Regions from separate parts of the Homo sapiens genome. Here regions 2 and 3 are each linked to region 1. Evidence: promoter capture Hi-C in 16 types of primary human blood cells and fetal thymus (Javierre and others, 2016). All regions are on one chromosome and are shown on one strand. The core of a region is centred on a gene start or on the middle of the fragment in contact, and the rest is flanking DNA. Distances in the headings are between cores, read along the strand shown. Region 1 holds the start of HMGA2 (high mobility group AT-hook 2). Region 2 overlaps MSRB3 (methionine sulfoxide reductase B3). Region 3 has its middle 42 kb from the start of LLPH.

What was found. Contacts are between HindIII fragments. The CHiCAGO score rates a contact against its expected background, and 5 or more counts as called.
Region 2: a contact is called between a fragment that was not itself captured here and the fragment with the promoter of HMGA2 in region 1, in 1 of 17 cell types (endothelial precursors). The highest score is 7.0, in endothelial precursors.
Region 3: a contact is called between a fragment that was not itself captured here and the fragment with the promoter of HMGA2 in region 1, in 1 of 17 cell types (endothelial precursors). The highest score is 6.2, in endothelial precursors.

The regions. Positions count from the first base shown.
Region 1 is chr12:65,822,418-65,827,210 of GRCh38, reverse strand. HMGA2 (high mobility group AT-hook 2) reads right to left here and starts at 2,728. Exons shown (of 5, transcript NM_003483.6): 1 at 1,830-2,728. The coding sequence starts at 1,940. It also overlaps the pseudogene RPSAP52. RefSeq lists an enhancer at 1,001-1,608. The HindIII fragment of the contact is 7,944 bases long and covers 277-4,793 here.
Region 2 is chr12:65,320,604-65,325,396 of GRCh38, reverse strand. The region is part of intron 2 of MSRB3 (methionine sulfoxide reductase B3); the gene reads right to left. Among named protein-coding and RNA genes, the nearest start is that of MSRB3, 44 kb to the right of the region's middle. The HindIII fragment of the contact is 478 bases long and covers 1,611-2,088 here.
Region 3 is chr12:66,086,193-66,090,985 of GRCh38, reverse strand. No RefSeq gene overlaps it. Among named protein-coding and RNA genes, the nearest start is that of LLPH, 42 kb to the left of the region's middle. The HindIII fragment of the contact is 505 bases long and covers 1,959-2,463 here.

The DNA.
Region 1 (4,793 bases), core at 1,479-3,978:
GCGAGGAGGAATGGAGTGTCTGGGAATGAGAAATGGAAGCAATCACTTGGTTTAGCAAAACTTTAAATGGCTCCTATGCCAAGTAGTAAATACTCAAGTGGTTAAGAGAATGCGATGATTAATATTCCAGATCCCAAATATTTATCCAGTGAATCATCTATTCACATTTCATTCAGATTCGGTGATTAAGTGAGACTAATTAACTTAAAACCCATGAACGTCCTCAATGAAAATTCGCATCCCATTTAGAGAATTCGGGAAGGTTCCCTGCAAGCTTCTGTGGGACCACTAGCACCAGTGGGCACATCGAGAGCAAACACATCGGAGACAAATTTTTCTTTCTTTGTGAACTCTGCCTTAACTCAAAGGTAAAGTATCCAATCACCTCCAGACCCCATTGTAATTTCTTTTGGATTTTTTTTTTTTTTTTGGAGGGGGGGCAATTAGTGAGTTAGAACTGGGTGGCGGGTGGGAAACAAGTGGGGGAGGGCAGAGACTTCCTGGGAGGTGTAAAACAGGATTCAAATGCGGTGTAAAGTGTCGCTTGGGCAGAGCGGGAAAACTCAGGGGCCTCTAGATCGGCTTGTTTCCTTTGATGATTTCAAAAAGGTACAACTCTCAATTTTTCTAAAATGCACTGGCAAGCAAACATTGTTCAGTTTCCCCACCTTGCTCTCGGACAACTTTGGGACTCTAGGATTATTTTCTAATCGGCGTGTTTGCCATGAAGGAAGCGATTTAAGACTAAGCAGAGAGCAAGTTTTAAAGCCCGAGAAAGTGGAGTTTAAATGTTCTCAATAGACATATCCCGCTCCAACTCTGCCCGCCGCGGCTTGGAAATTACAGCGAACAAAACCCCCAGCCCTGCGCGCTGAGCGCAGCTCTGCAAGCGCCGGCTGCACGCTTAATTGGTTGCATCCGCAGACAAAACCCTCCACTCCGCAGGGTCCCGGGCGCCCCTCGATCGTCCCCTACTCAACCCCCGGCCACTGGCCTTGGAGAAGAGCATTTAATGGCTGCAGCTCTGAGGCGCGAGATCCAGGGGCAAAAGGGGGACCGGGCCCCTGACAAGGAAGCGACCCTGGCTACCCTGCACTCTCTTGGACACTCCTTTCAACGCGCCCTTAGCTGGGCGAGTTAACCCCGTCCTGCGGGGAACCAGGCTCCCCGTAGCCCCTGCCCCGGGCTCCCTCCGGCGGCCGCCGCATATTTAAAGAGCCCAAAAAGGACCAGGCAGCCGGGTCTCCATGCGTTCTTTGTCGGGAGGGCGCGAGTCTTGGGCCACCGAGAGCTTGGAGGAGGGCGCCAAGGGGGCGGCTGCGGCGCGCCAGCCCCCGACCCGCGAGCAGCCCCGGGAGGCGGGAGAAAGAGCCTCCGGCCCCCAAGACTCTAGCCCCTTCAGCCCAGATCGGCCGAAGCGCCCGGGTCCCCGGCACCTCCTTCCTCCCGGGCAGTTGCAAAAGCAACTCGGAAAGCGCCTGCGAGCCCGGGTTTGTCGGATCCCGGTCGCTTCCAGTCACTGGGCGACACCGCGCCACTCGGGGCCGTGCACAATAGCGAAAGTCCGAGGACGCGCTTCGCCCGACCCCACCTCCCGCCTTCCCCGGGCCGCCCGCCGCGGCTCCCCACCTCCCCGCCCGGAGGGTTGCTGGCGCCCCGGGGCCGCGCGGCGCACTCGTGGGGTCTGCGCCGCTCCCCCCGGCCGGCCGGCGGGCAGTGTGCGACGGCCGCGGCGACTGGGCTCCCGCACTCCGGCCGCCCCGCGCGTGTCTGGGCCCCGGCAGTGGGGACGGGGTGGGCTGGTGCCCCCACCGCGCCCTCGTACTGACTTGCTGCTGCTTCCTGGGGCGGCCGCGTCCTCTCTTCTGAGGCGCTGGGGCGGCAGGTTGTCCCTGGGCTGAAGTGGACGGCTGCCCCGCGCCCTCACCGCGTGCGCTCATCCTGCCTCCCGCCGCCGCTACCGCCGCTGCAGCCGCTTCGCCTCGACCGCCCCGGAGCTGCCCAGCACCTTTCGGGAGATGAGGTGATAGGGCTGGGGACGCCGGCGGGGCGAGCGCGAGCTGGCGGGCTGCGAGGGCTGCTGTTGCTTAGGCTGCCGCCGCTGCCACCATCAACACCGGACGTCCAGCGGCTGCCAAAAAGAGAAGAGGGGAGGAGGAGGAGGAGAGGAGGAGGCGCTGCCGGTGGCGGCGGCGGCGGTGGGTGGGTGCCGGAGGTGGAGGTGGCGGTGGAGGTGGAGGTAGCAAGAGGAGGAGGGAAGCGAGGGAGAAGGAAGAGAGGCTTTGAGGTCGCAGAGGCTCCTCTCGCGGGTTGGGATCAGGAGTTGCGGGCACCGGGAGCACTTCGGAAGCGGCTTGGAAAGGGAAGAGACTTGGAGTGAATTGTGTCCCTTGAAATGTTAGGCGGGGAAAGAATTCCTCCTCCTCTTCCCCCCACCCTGCGAGAGAGAGAGAGAGAGAGAGAGAGAGAGAGAGAGAGAGAGAGAGAGAGAGAGAGAAGAGATTGAGATTGAAAGTGCCTTGGGCAGTCGGAAAGCAAAGGAGGATGGGGAGACTCCGCCGGGATAGGGTCGGGCACGGAGCACAGGCAGAGGACAGAGTAGTGGGTGGCACCGCGCCTCCTAGGGTGGCGGGAGCAGGCAGCGGCGGCACCGGAGAGTCGGAGGGGGACGGGCTGCTAGCTCCTGAGTCTTGCACCAAGCGCGCGCTGCCCGGGCTGGAAGTTTTCTGAGTTCCTGCCCCAAGATTCAAGTGGGATGAGTGTGTGTGAGTGTGTGTGAGTGTGAGTGTGTGTGGTGTGTGTGCGTGCACGCGCTTGCGCTTGGGGAGGGGGTGGTGGTGGGGGGAGTGCCCACCTCTAATCGTGGGCGGATAAAGGGGAGGGGGTTGCGCAGGAAGAAAAGTATGAGGAGGAGGGAGGCCAGGCGGACCGCCGAGCCAAGGCGCCTGGCTGCTAGCCAGAGGCAGCGTTCGAAATACAACTGCCTCGGCGGCGGCGGCGCCCGGGTGCCACCCGGAGCCCCGCTCACGTGCTCCCGCCCGGCGGCGGGGTTAAAGGGACAGGCCGGGGATCCCGGGCTGGCTCGCCGTGGGCCTAGCTCCACCCGCCTCTCGAGGTCACCCCTGGGCAGTTGTCCTGGGAAGGCGCGGGAACGTGACTGTCCCGGAGCCACGTTTCGGGGCTTGGCCTTTACCTGCGCCTCTACCGTGCCGAGCCAACACTTTGCAGGAAGCGTCTAGGCTGCACCTCAGGCAGCGCACCGGTTCACTGTGAGTGGGAAGGGACTGCAGTGGAGTGGGAGAGGTCCCCTGACAGCCGTACTCCGCCTCGGAATGCCCTCACCACAGAGCCTGCGGGCGGGCGAGCGCGCACATACACGGAGACATGCATGCAGATACACACGAACACGCGTGTAAGCACATGCACGCAGATACACGTGGACACGGGGGCATTCATGCGCTGGTAAACACCCGCATTTACACACACACACATACACACAGGCACGCAGATAGACATGCACATTCGCAGACACATGCAAACAATGTGCACACACAGAGCGCCCCAGCTTCTTCATTGAACTTTTTTCTCCAGGAAAGACTAGAGGCAACCGAAGTTCCCTCCCCATCCCCCTCCCCGGGAATCCGATGTTCCCAGGGTAAAGGGCACCTTGTAGATTCCTAACACCACAATTGCACTCACTGCCCAACTCTCCCTTCAGTTTACCTCGATTTAACCTTCTGCCTGAGAACTCTCTTTCTGCCAAGTCCTAATTTTATGGCCTGGGCTGTTCTGAGTTATGTGAACACCATAATGGCCACAGTCCGTTTTTAAAAGGTGGAGTACATTTTTAAATGTACCTCTTTTCATCCTTGAATAACACAAAACTCTGAAAAAATTAGGTTCAGATTTTCACACATCACACCCAAAATTATTTTGGACTAATTCCAAAATAAAAACTTTCACCTGGGGAAGAATTTATTTTTTTCAAAGATACAGACCACCGTGGAATAAAAACGCCTACTTTGCAGCCCTAAGCAGGAGTTAGGCACCGCCAGGTTCCGCTGTGCATGTGGAGGAGGCGCGTGTAAATGTCTGCTTTGGCGCGGCAGCGCTGATTGGTCCGCGTTGCCATTTTAAATCCATTTCCAGCTGCCCTTTGCAGAGCTGGGACACTTTGCTGCACGTTGAGTGCTCTGCAGGAACCCAGGGTTTCTGCTGGGTCTGGGAACGCTTAGCTGTAATGGAGAGAGAGAGCCTCCATCCCTCCGGATGGAGCCCAGCAGCTGACTGGGGAGGGAGGGGTCTAACAGGAACCAAAGGTTTTCTGTCAGGGCTTGGCTCAAAGATGGTATCTTCATCAAAGGGATTGAAGTTTCACCTAACGATTACAGTGACATTTCCTAACTGCCAATCGTGCACATTTAAAAACTATCACATATTTGCACTGTGGTGTGCACATTTCACATACACGTACAAAATAGGTTTTTGGGTTTGTGTTGTTTGCTCACTTTTTGCCAGGAGTAGAGAGAAATTCTGAAGGTGAATGCAGGGGAGTCACTGAGGAGTTCAGCCAGCCAGTTTTGTGCTGTATACCTCATTATATCCTAGGATTTTTTTTTTTTTGGTAACGTGTACAGAGGTCAGCAAAGAGCAGATTCCAAAATTTTGTTTTTGCGTTAATCTTTGAATATAAGAGAAGCACAGAAAAATTGGGGGTGGGGGAATATACAGCCACTTGTTTTCAGGCTGCTATCATTTTGCTATTAGACTATTTGACCCCTTTTGAATTTATA
Region 2 (4,793 bases), core at 600-3,099, 500 kb after region 1:
TCTGCTGACCTTCCACAAATACTTCAGCCCTTCCCTGGCCTGCAAAGATCCACAGGCACAGCAGGCATGTCACTAATGGCATGTTGATCTCTCATCTCACTGGACCCCGTCTTATCCTAGGCTTTATCCAAATACCTACTACTTGTATTTTTGCTGTTATCAACGGTTAGGTAGAAATGTTTCCCTGAGAAATGTCTGTCCTATCAGAACAAGCCTCTCAATAGCTTGAATGCAAAGTGGCTCTTTCTTAAATAATCAGTCAACAGTGATAGGTGAGTTTCTGCTTAATTCAGTACAGACTTCTTAAAAATTATTTTATTCTCATGTGTTTGTTGGAAGGGTTGTATCTTAGTTAATACTGTCACAAAATCATTAAATGCAAACTTAACATGACAAAATGACTTGGTTAAAATTATTCTTTTCAATGGCATAATTAAAATATGTACAATTAAAATCAAACAATTCTATCCAAAATATTTTTGTTAATATACGTTCATTCATACAAAAAGACCAATTGTGTTCCCAAAGTTGAGAGAACTAAGCTACCCATCTGTATGTCATTTAGTACAAGAGAAGCAACTGCAGGTTTAAATTACATGGTATTGGATTGCAATTTCCTAACATTGGATGCTTTTCTGCCTTTTTACCTTGAGTCATTTACTAAGGAGTGTTCATAAAAAGTAGCTTAAAGCACAGATGCTTGCAAATCATTTAGGCAAAGATGTTTCTCTCTTTTTCATTCTCCCTCTCTCATGAATCTCTCTTTTCCGAAGAGAATAAAACCGTTGGTCAGTATTGATGAACCATGTCAAGTATTTGTACAAGAAAAAAAGGTAAAATTGAAAACATCTGATTGAAGTAAATAATACAAACATAAAAGCTTTACTAGTGAATGAAGGGTATTGAAGAGACTTTATTTCATAGATTAGAAATTACTTTTGATCTAAACATTCTTAAAAACAGATTGTTTTCCACTATGAAACATCTCATTAACTGTGCTACAGAGACCTCGTTTTAATGGCAAGCCTTGAAAGAGTGCTGCTGTACTCCTTTGTTAGTCTCCGTCTTATTTGGGAGGGGAATAAAGATTTCATTCCAGCTTTCTTTGTTTGTCTTTCAAGAACCACTAAAGCAGTATTCACACAAATTTTGTAGGAATGTGCCCTATGTCATAGCCTACAAATTATTTGGTTTTGGTGCACTTAAAGGTCATCTTCCAAATTAGCAAAATTTTTTTACATCCTGGCTTTTCAACCTTAAGTATAAATATTGTTTCCTAACTGTAAGTGAGGTTTGTCCTTTAAGAAATACTAGTGATTATTTAAAGTTGTCAAACTTTGTACATTTTCATTCTTTGGTTATACTATATTCTCAAAATAATTAGGTTTTCAAAGTATATCTAATACCAAAAGGAAATATATGTAGACTAGAAACAACTATTGTGATTTTACATTAAACAATTCAATGAGAAGTTGGTCAGATTTTAATAAATATCTTGCCACACCATTTAATAATAATAATATACTTCCTGGACAATTTAAAGCTATACTATTACATTAGCCCTTCTATCATCAGAACCAAATATTGGTATATATAAACACAGAAAAGCTTCACTTTTGTCTCTTATTTCCCTTCTCCCTATCAGACTCACTTTTCTAAAGTCATATGGTGCCACTGTTAATCTTGAAAAAATCATTTCATTTTGAAATTCTGGAGTAATTCATTGGATGGTTTCCCTTTACTATCTTCACTTAGGTACTGTAATTTTCTTATTACACAGGGTAATTTAACATTAGTATTATATGACATCTGTTCAATGACCTCTAAATTGGCTTAGAAGTATGTTTGGGAAAGATTTTTCCCTTTATTTAAATGTTTAATAGTGTCTTTTGAAGGCACAAGTGAGTGTGTGTGTACACACATGTAACACAATTACATATTTGAGGAGATAATATTGCCATTTTGGTATCTAATCATAACACCGTTCCTTACAGAGTAACTTTGAGATAGATCAGTTCCATCTTGAACATAGTCCAAGGATATTTTATTTATTGAAATATGTCCAAAGTCTCTTTTTATAGCGAAGCTTGTCCTGTGTTGTTGCCTCAAGGCCAGTATTGTTTCGAAGCCCCAGTATGAAGCTCTTGCTATTAGTACAAATAAACGTACAGCAACAGTTTGCTTTGTGGCTCTGCCTGCTTCCCAGCCACGTGACCTGAAGCAAGTCACCTTTGCTATGTGTTGCCACCCTCAAAGATCTGCTATAAGGATCACAGCCATTAGCACTTACTTCATTTTGATTACAGTGAATTCTGAGGTTAAAATTGTATTTTAAAAGATAGCCAGGTCCAGTATTTAGTGTGCAGCAATCTTTTATTGGTAATTCTTTTTCTATAATAATTCCCTGGGAACAGTATTTTCCTCACACCTTATCTTGTTTTTATGATTAAAGTGGGAAATGAAGGAAGAAAATAAAACTAAAATTTGAGTCCTCCTACATGCCAGGCACATGTCTAGGCACTTTCACATAAATACATTTAATCTTCTCAATAATTCTAGAACGTGGCTGTCATGCCCATTTTACAGATACAGAAACTGAGGCGTGGAGAGGTTATAACATACCTTATTAAGGACAAACAGCAAGTAGACTTATCAACTCAAACCCAGGGCTGTCTGACTGCAAAACTCATAGTTGTTATATTTTCTTTCTTCTTCTTTTTTTTTTTTTTTTTTTTTGAGATGGAGTCTCGCTCTGTCACCCAGGCTGGAGTCCAGTGGTGTGAGTTCAGCTCACTGCAACCTCTGCATTTCGGATTCAAGCGATTCTCCTGCCTCAGCCTCAGCCTCCAGAGTGGCTGGGATTACAGACGCCCACCACCACACCCGGGTAATTTTTGTATTTTTGGTAGAGATGGGGTTTCGACATGATGGCCAGGTCTCGAACTCCTGACCTCAGGTGATCTGCCCGCCTCGGCCTCCCAAAGTGCTGGGATTACAGGTGTGAGCCACCACACCCAGCCAGTCATCATATTTTGTCAGGAAAAATTATGTAACAACTTTTCTTCTTTCTTCTCTAACTATACAATAACTTTCAGCTTAAAAACTAACAAAATAATAAGGGGGAAAAAGTAATAATCACCTCAGTACATCAGAAAAGTTACATACATTTATCTATTAGCCAATGTCTCTTTTCCCTGTATTTACTCCTTCAACATAGGGTCAGTGACAAGTTTCATACAGGATTCTCACAAAGTCTATGAAACGTTGAAAGGCTTTTTTAACTTCCTATTAAGAAGTAAATTAGATCTGTTACCTAAACCTTAGAGTACTTTTAAGTCATAAATTTTATATTTCGGTGTGAAAAATCAAAACAAAACAAAACCTAAGGATCCCATAACTTTAATTTTGGTTCTAGAATCAGAAAAAACGAAACTATTAAATATTTTCCCAAGATAATAAATGAATAAGAGATAAGAATGTCTTGTTTTGCTTTGAGTTTAGTAGGTTAAAACAGTAAAGTTCATGTTGAAATACCTTGCTGCTATATTTAAAGGTGGTATACTTTATTTTTCACTGTAAATTTGGTTGGTTATTAGTTTGTCACTGGAAAACTAAGCAAATTTTTACTTCAGGCATAGTATAGTGTTAGAATTTCTAAATAATTGGCCATTTGGAAAAGTCAAATTTAGACCATTTTTTAGAATAAAATATAAAATATATACCATAACTATCATTTTTTGTTTGTTTGCATTCTAGTAATTCAATAAAGGCTTTAAGATAAGACAAACCTACAAAGCATGGAGGAAGAAAAGCTCCTATATTTGTAGAACCATACCTAATTCTGATTTTTCTCTCAAAGTAGACATATATAGGAAAAACATTCCTGAGATTAACATACAGTCTAAGATGTCAGGACACTTTTGCTTCAGTCCTCTGGTTTCCACAAAACTAGAGCTGCAGGGTTTACTTTGAGGACCACTGATCCAAGATTTTTTCTTAAATTAAGTCATCAAAAATGTTGAGTGTTTACAAAGTGTCAGACACTATGCTAAGTAAGATATATACATTAGTTCAATAATTATTTATTGAGTACCTATTATCTGCTGGCACTATTCTAAGTACTTAGGATACTTTCCTGGAGTACTAAATAGATCTAAGTACTTAGATCTACTTTCCTGGAGCTCCCATTCCAGCAGGAGTAAGGGAAGACAGACAAACTACAATGAAAATAAGTAAGTAAATTATATAGTCTCTTAGAAGGTGGTAAGTATTCAGGAAGGAAAAAGGAAAACTGGAGGACTGGGAGTGAAAGGAATAAGGATTATAATCTTAAATAGAGTGGCCAAAGAAGTCTCACTGAGGTGATATTTGAGCAAAGCCCTGAAGGAGGAGAGGAAGGTGTCTGTGCTGATCTCTGAAGGAAGAGCTTTCCGAACACATGGCAGGAATGATCAATGCAAGAGATGAAAACACTAACAAGTTCATATTCCAGTGGCAGAGACAGAGACAGGTAACCTCAGTGAAAGTGCTAAAACCTGAATATGAATAGATAAGCAACAATTTAAATATATAAGACATATGCTTTTAAACCAGGAAATTTACAACTACGTATCTTAATACAGGCATTGTTTAGCATTACCTTTTTTTACTTCCAAGAGAAAGTTTAGTGAATATCCATTTAGCAAAGTGCTACCCTCAAAATAGCTCTCGGAAAGTATTTTTCTGGCTGAACTTTCAACGTATGATCAGAGTGCAGGTTCTGCTAATTTGCTTTGTCCACTTAAAGTCATCCT
Region 3 (4,793 bases), core at 962-3,461, 260 kb before region 1:
AGACAGGTTCGATTTTTGTTATTACTGCTCTTTTATTTTTGTACTTCTCTTGGATTATGGAGCTGTCAGTTGCACTGGGAGTTGATTTCGAGCCAAGTAATGATACAGACAATGCTGAATAACAATTGCTTCTGAATTCTTTCAGGATATGGACCACTTACTGATACCCTGCGTCCATTCCCAGCTCTCAGACTAACATGCAACATCAGTACAAGGTGTGGAGGTACTGGTCAGACATTCAATTTTCAAAAAAGCTGCCTTTAAGGCACCTATTTCTTTTGTTACTAAGAATTTTTTTTTTCAAAAACAGTATTCATCTATGTGGCTTCCATTTTGTTTTTTAACCTCCCTGGGCCTCTTTTTATGAATCTGTATTCAGAAGGGTTGCACAAGATGTCTTATAATATTCCTTCCAGCTCTGACCTGCTGAGTTTCTCAATGACTGGATAATGATTTTATTATTTCGATTCCTCTCCAGGAATCTTCCTCTCCCAACCTGCCCTTTGGCATTTTCATTTTTTTCCCTCTTGAAATTGCGTCCCTTTCCCTCTTTCTCTATCTTTTCTCTGTTGATTTTTTTCCCTTATGGCTTTTCCTCACTTCCTTTTTTCCTTCCTCTTTCCTTCAACTTCCTTTCTCTGCCACTTTTTCTCTCTTGACTTCATCCCCTCACCTCCTCTCGTCTCTCTGATGATTTCTCTCTTTTCCCCTCTCTCTCTTCTCTGGATATTTTCTTCTCTCTTTCCCTTCATCACGCCTTTCTTTCTTTCATTGAACTCAACATGCCTTAATTTTCCTTTGCTGTACTCTTTAGATCCCAGCAGATCCTTGGAATATAACAGGAAATCAGTTACAGGAAATTCAGAACGTGTGGTACCTTTCTTTAGAAAAAGACCAATGAATGCTTGGAATAGCAGGAAGTTTAGGCACTGAATAGATTACCTTAGTTTCTCTGTGCTGTGCAGATAAGCTCATTGTTCTAACTCAATAGAGGCATTTTTTGTTTCCTGGATGTGCCATGTTTCTGGTGTTCTTCTAGAATCACTGGGCTCCTTCTTGTAGTAAAAACAGTACTTTCAAATTGTTAGCTTTATTTGGAAAACTTTAAAGATAATCTTTAAAAGCCCCAGGCTAAAACTCGCACCTCTATTATGTTCCTTTATCCAGTCAAATAGTTGCAAATTATATGAGCTGGATTTGGATCCTGAATGGACACAACAGAAGATGTCAATATTTTATCTTGTATTCTTTCTCTGAGCTTCACAAATCTGTTTTGTATCCCTTCATTTTTGGTTAAATTATTGAAGACATATCATTTTCTGAAAGTCTTCTTAGTCCAGATTTCTTAGGCAGAAAAACCGCCATCTTGTTTTGGATAATGAAACCTCCGTCTACCATACTGACATGTGAAGTATTAGTTGGTTTGTAGCAGTGTTTTCATCATCATCAAATCTTTCGGGACACATCCATTTTTTTCTATGTCTCTTTTCTGTGCCAACTGAAGTGAGACTGGCTCTTTAAGATAAAACAATGTTTGTGAACAACCTTTATTTTTTAAATCACTTATGCTTGTAGAATGTGTTGTTTAAAATTCTCTTTGGGGTCCAGGACTTTATGCTGTATGCTCTTGGAAACACCACGGTCTTTTCCAAGTTTCTATTCTTATTTCTCAGGGAGAGAGACTAATTGTTAAAATGATCAGTATGCTTCTGATATTGTTGCATAAGTCATGTGAATAGGGGCCCTGCTATGTTGCCCAATCTGCCCTCGAAATCCTGGGCTCAAGTGATCCTCCAGCCTCGGCCTCCCAAGTATCTGGGAAGACAGGCGCATGCCACTGTGCTGGGCTCATGTGAATATTTTTAAGGACATACAAATAAACCTGTGTTTGATGTAAAGGGTGAAGACATTATCTTTGATTCCCAATTTCTACCAATTTTTTTTTTTTTACATAAGCTTTTTTTAGCCACCTCAGGCAATCACAGCATTTCAAAGGGGCTAGCTTGATACTTGGTTGAAGAGGGACTCTATCCTCCTCTGAATCTTGGATTCTAGCCTCAACATACACATCAGGTTTGGAATTTAATTTAATTCTTGGAAAATGGTTTCTTCATAAATTTTTTTTAATAAAAAAGAGATTTTAGAAGTATGATCAGGTGGTCTCCACACAGAGACATACAGGACACTTCCTGATTTGTGGACAACCCCCTTGGGTAAAACGGCCATGATTGCTCAGTCCCCAGCTTCAACAACAACTGGGGCAGCTCTGAAACCCTCTGGCTGTGGCCGAGGTGGACTCACCTTCAAAAGCGTCAAGGCCGGTGGGAGCTCTGAACTCAGAGCAGCTCCACAGGGGGCTGGGCAGGATGATAAATGGATTCGTTATTGTTGTGTGGAATGTCCACAAGAACCCTTTTGCACCTGAGACACAGAAAACATTAAAGGGGCCGGGCGGCACAAGCTTGGCTTCTGAAAGATAAAATACCATAAAATGAGCATGCAGTCATTGGGCAGATCATGAAGGAGGAAGGCATTGGACCTGCTCTCCAGGAAGGGACCTCAAGAGAGAACTTGCCAAAAAATCTCTTGGGAAGGTGCACATCTTCTGCAGCCTGCAGTAACCTCCTGGCTTCTGCAGGGCAGAAAGGAGGCCTCTTTTTTCAGAGAGATGGCTGTGTTGGCACCAACACACAACCCCTTCCCTCGTTTCTCATGGGCATCACTTTACTGGGAATGCTGTATGCTCCCAGGATGGTATTTCCATGAAGACATAGTTGGCCAGTCGTGCTCCCTATCCTCAACCTGATACTCAGACAGTCCCAGACAGAGCAAGGCATCGGGTTGCAGTTACACAGCAATCTGATGTGACAGGGCAGTACGCAGCTCAGGCCTCGTGTCATTAGAAACATCGCTGTTCAACGAGGCTCGGTGGCTCACGCCTGTAATCCCAGCACTTTGGGAGGCTGAGGCGGGTGGATCACCTGAGGTCAGGAATTCAAGACCAGCCTGGCCAACATGGTGAAACCCGGTCTCTACTAAAAATACAAAAATTAGCCAGGCATGGTGGCACACGCCTGTAATCCCAACTACTCAGGAGGCTGAGGCAGGATAATCGCTTGAACCCAGGAGGCGGAGGTTGTCATGAGCAGAGATCACGCCATTGCACTCCAGCCTGGGGGACAGAGCAAGATTCTGTCAAAAAAAAAAAAAAAAAAAAGAAGAAAGAAAGATCGCTGTTCAAAAACAAAATGCCTTCTCATTCTAATAAAACTCAACAATCTGGATGTCCTTCTCTGAAAAAGGAAATCAACACAGATGGCATTATCTTAAAATTGGGCCACCATTGAAGCTGTGGATCAGTGGCAACATGGAGTTTGGTTCCTACCGAAAACAAAACTGTCCCAATCCAGAGTCGGCCAGTAGATGGCACCCTGAGCATCTGACATAAAATCTAAGGCTGAGAATATTTATCTTCACCAAAGCGCTTCTCAAAACATTAAGCAAAACTTTGACTGAAACGCAACCGTATTTGGACAAGCAGGTTTATTTTACTTTAGTGCTGTGTTATTAGAAACATACATATGTGTGTGTATATATTTTACTATCAAACCCTAAAGTTATGGAAAATATCCTTGATGGTTAGGATGGACTGTAAACTTTTACAGTATTATTTGCAGGCAGATTTTTCAATTTCTTATTTAAGCCAGCTTTTTCTTAATATGAGGTTTAGTGGTTATGTGTCATACCAATGCTCAGGAAAACTCAGGAGAATATTTTTGGTTATCTAAATACCCCTGTGAAAGAAACGCACTCATAGGAAGAAAGAGAAATGCAGTGCGATACTTTGTGTGTTTTTAAAGAACAACTGAAATAAATGTTTCTATTTTGCTATATGCATCTATGTGGAATTATGTACACAAACACGTACAGCAAGATCAAGATGAGAAGATATATGGATATAGTTTAGTATAGGAATGCCACTCTATCTCAGATTCCAGCCCACACTCAAACCTAAAGGTTTTAGAGTAGGGAATAACTCTTAGAATTTAGTGATAGATATAGTATTTGGAAGATAAGCAATCCTTTAACCAAAAAAAACCATTGCCTTGAGTGGAAAGTCTGAACAAAACCTTCCACTGTCTCTGTGTGGATATTTTCTCACTGGGTAAGTGGTCAAAGAAGATGTGGTGGAGTACAAACAAAAACTAAAGGACAGATTGGAAGATCAGAGACTCAAGTTGCATGACAAAACTATTTGAGACTGAAGCAAAACTGAGGACCAATAATCAGAAGAACATTAAGGAGAGACATGAAGCAAAATTGGGGACCAATAATCAGAAGAATATTAATGAGAGATAGCAAAGTTCCAGAGGTACACATAAGAGGAGAAACTGGGAACACTCAAGACTCAAAACTAAAGGCACACACAACTTGTGGGCAGAACAAGATGAGCTTCCTGGGATGAATGTGTTTTGCTTGTAATTTTGCTCCCTTTGAAGGTGCAAGGGCTCCCTCAAGGATGCCTCTTTGCCCTTCTCAAGGGCACTCTTTCTTTTTGTATGCAGCGACTGACAGACTTACTGATCTCTTTGTAATCACAAATATTGACTCCCATTATTTATTCAGAGTTTATTTCATTGCTAGCTTTGACACTTGACACAGAGTTATATCTTGCAGATGGTGAAATAAATACTCATTCTTTGAGGTAACTGGATATCAAAGGGAAGTAGAAGTCCTCGGAATGTCCAGAGAGGGTGAGCAGGTGTTGGGTGTCTGTGGGAATTTCAATTATT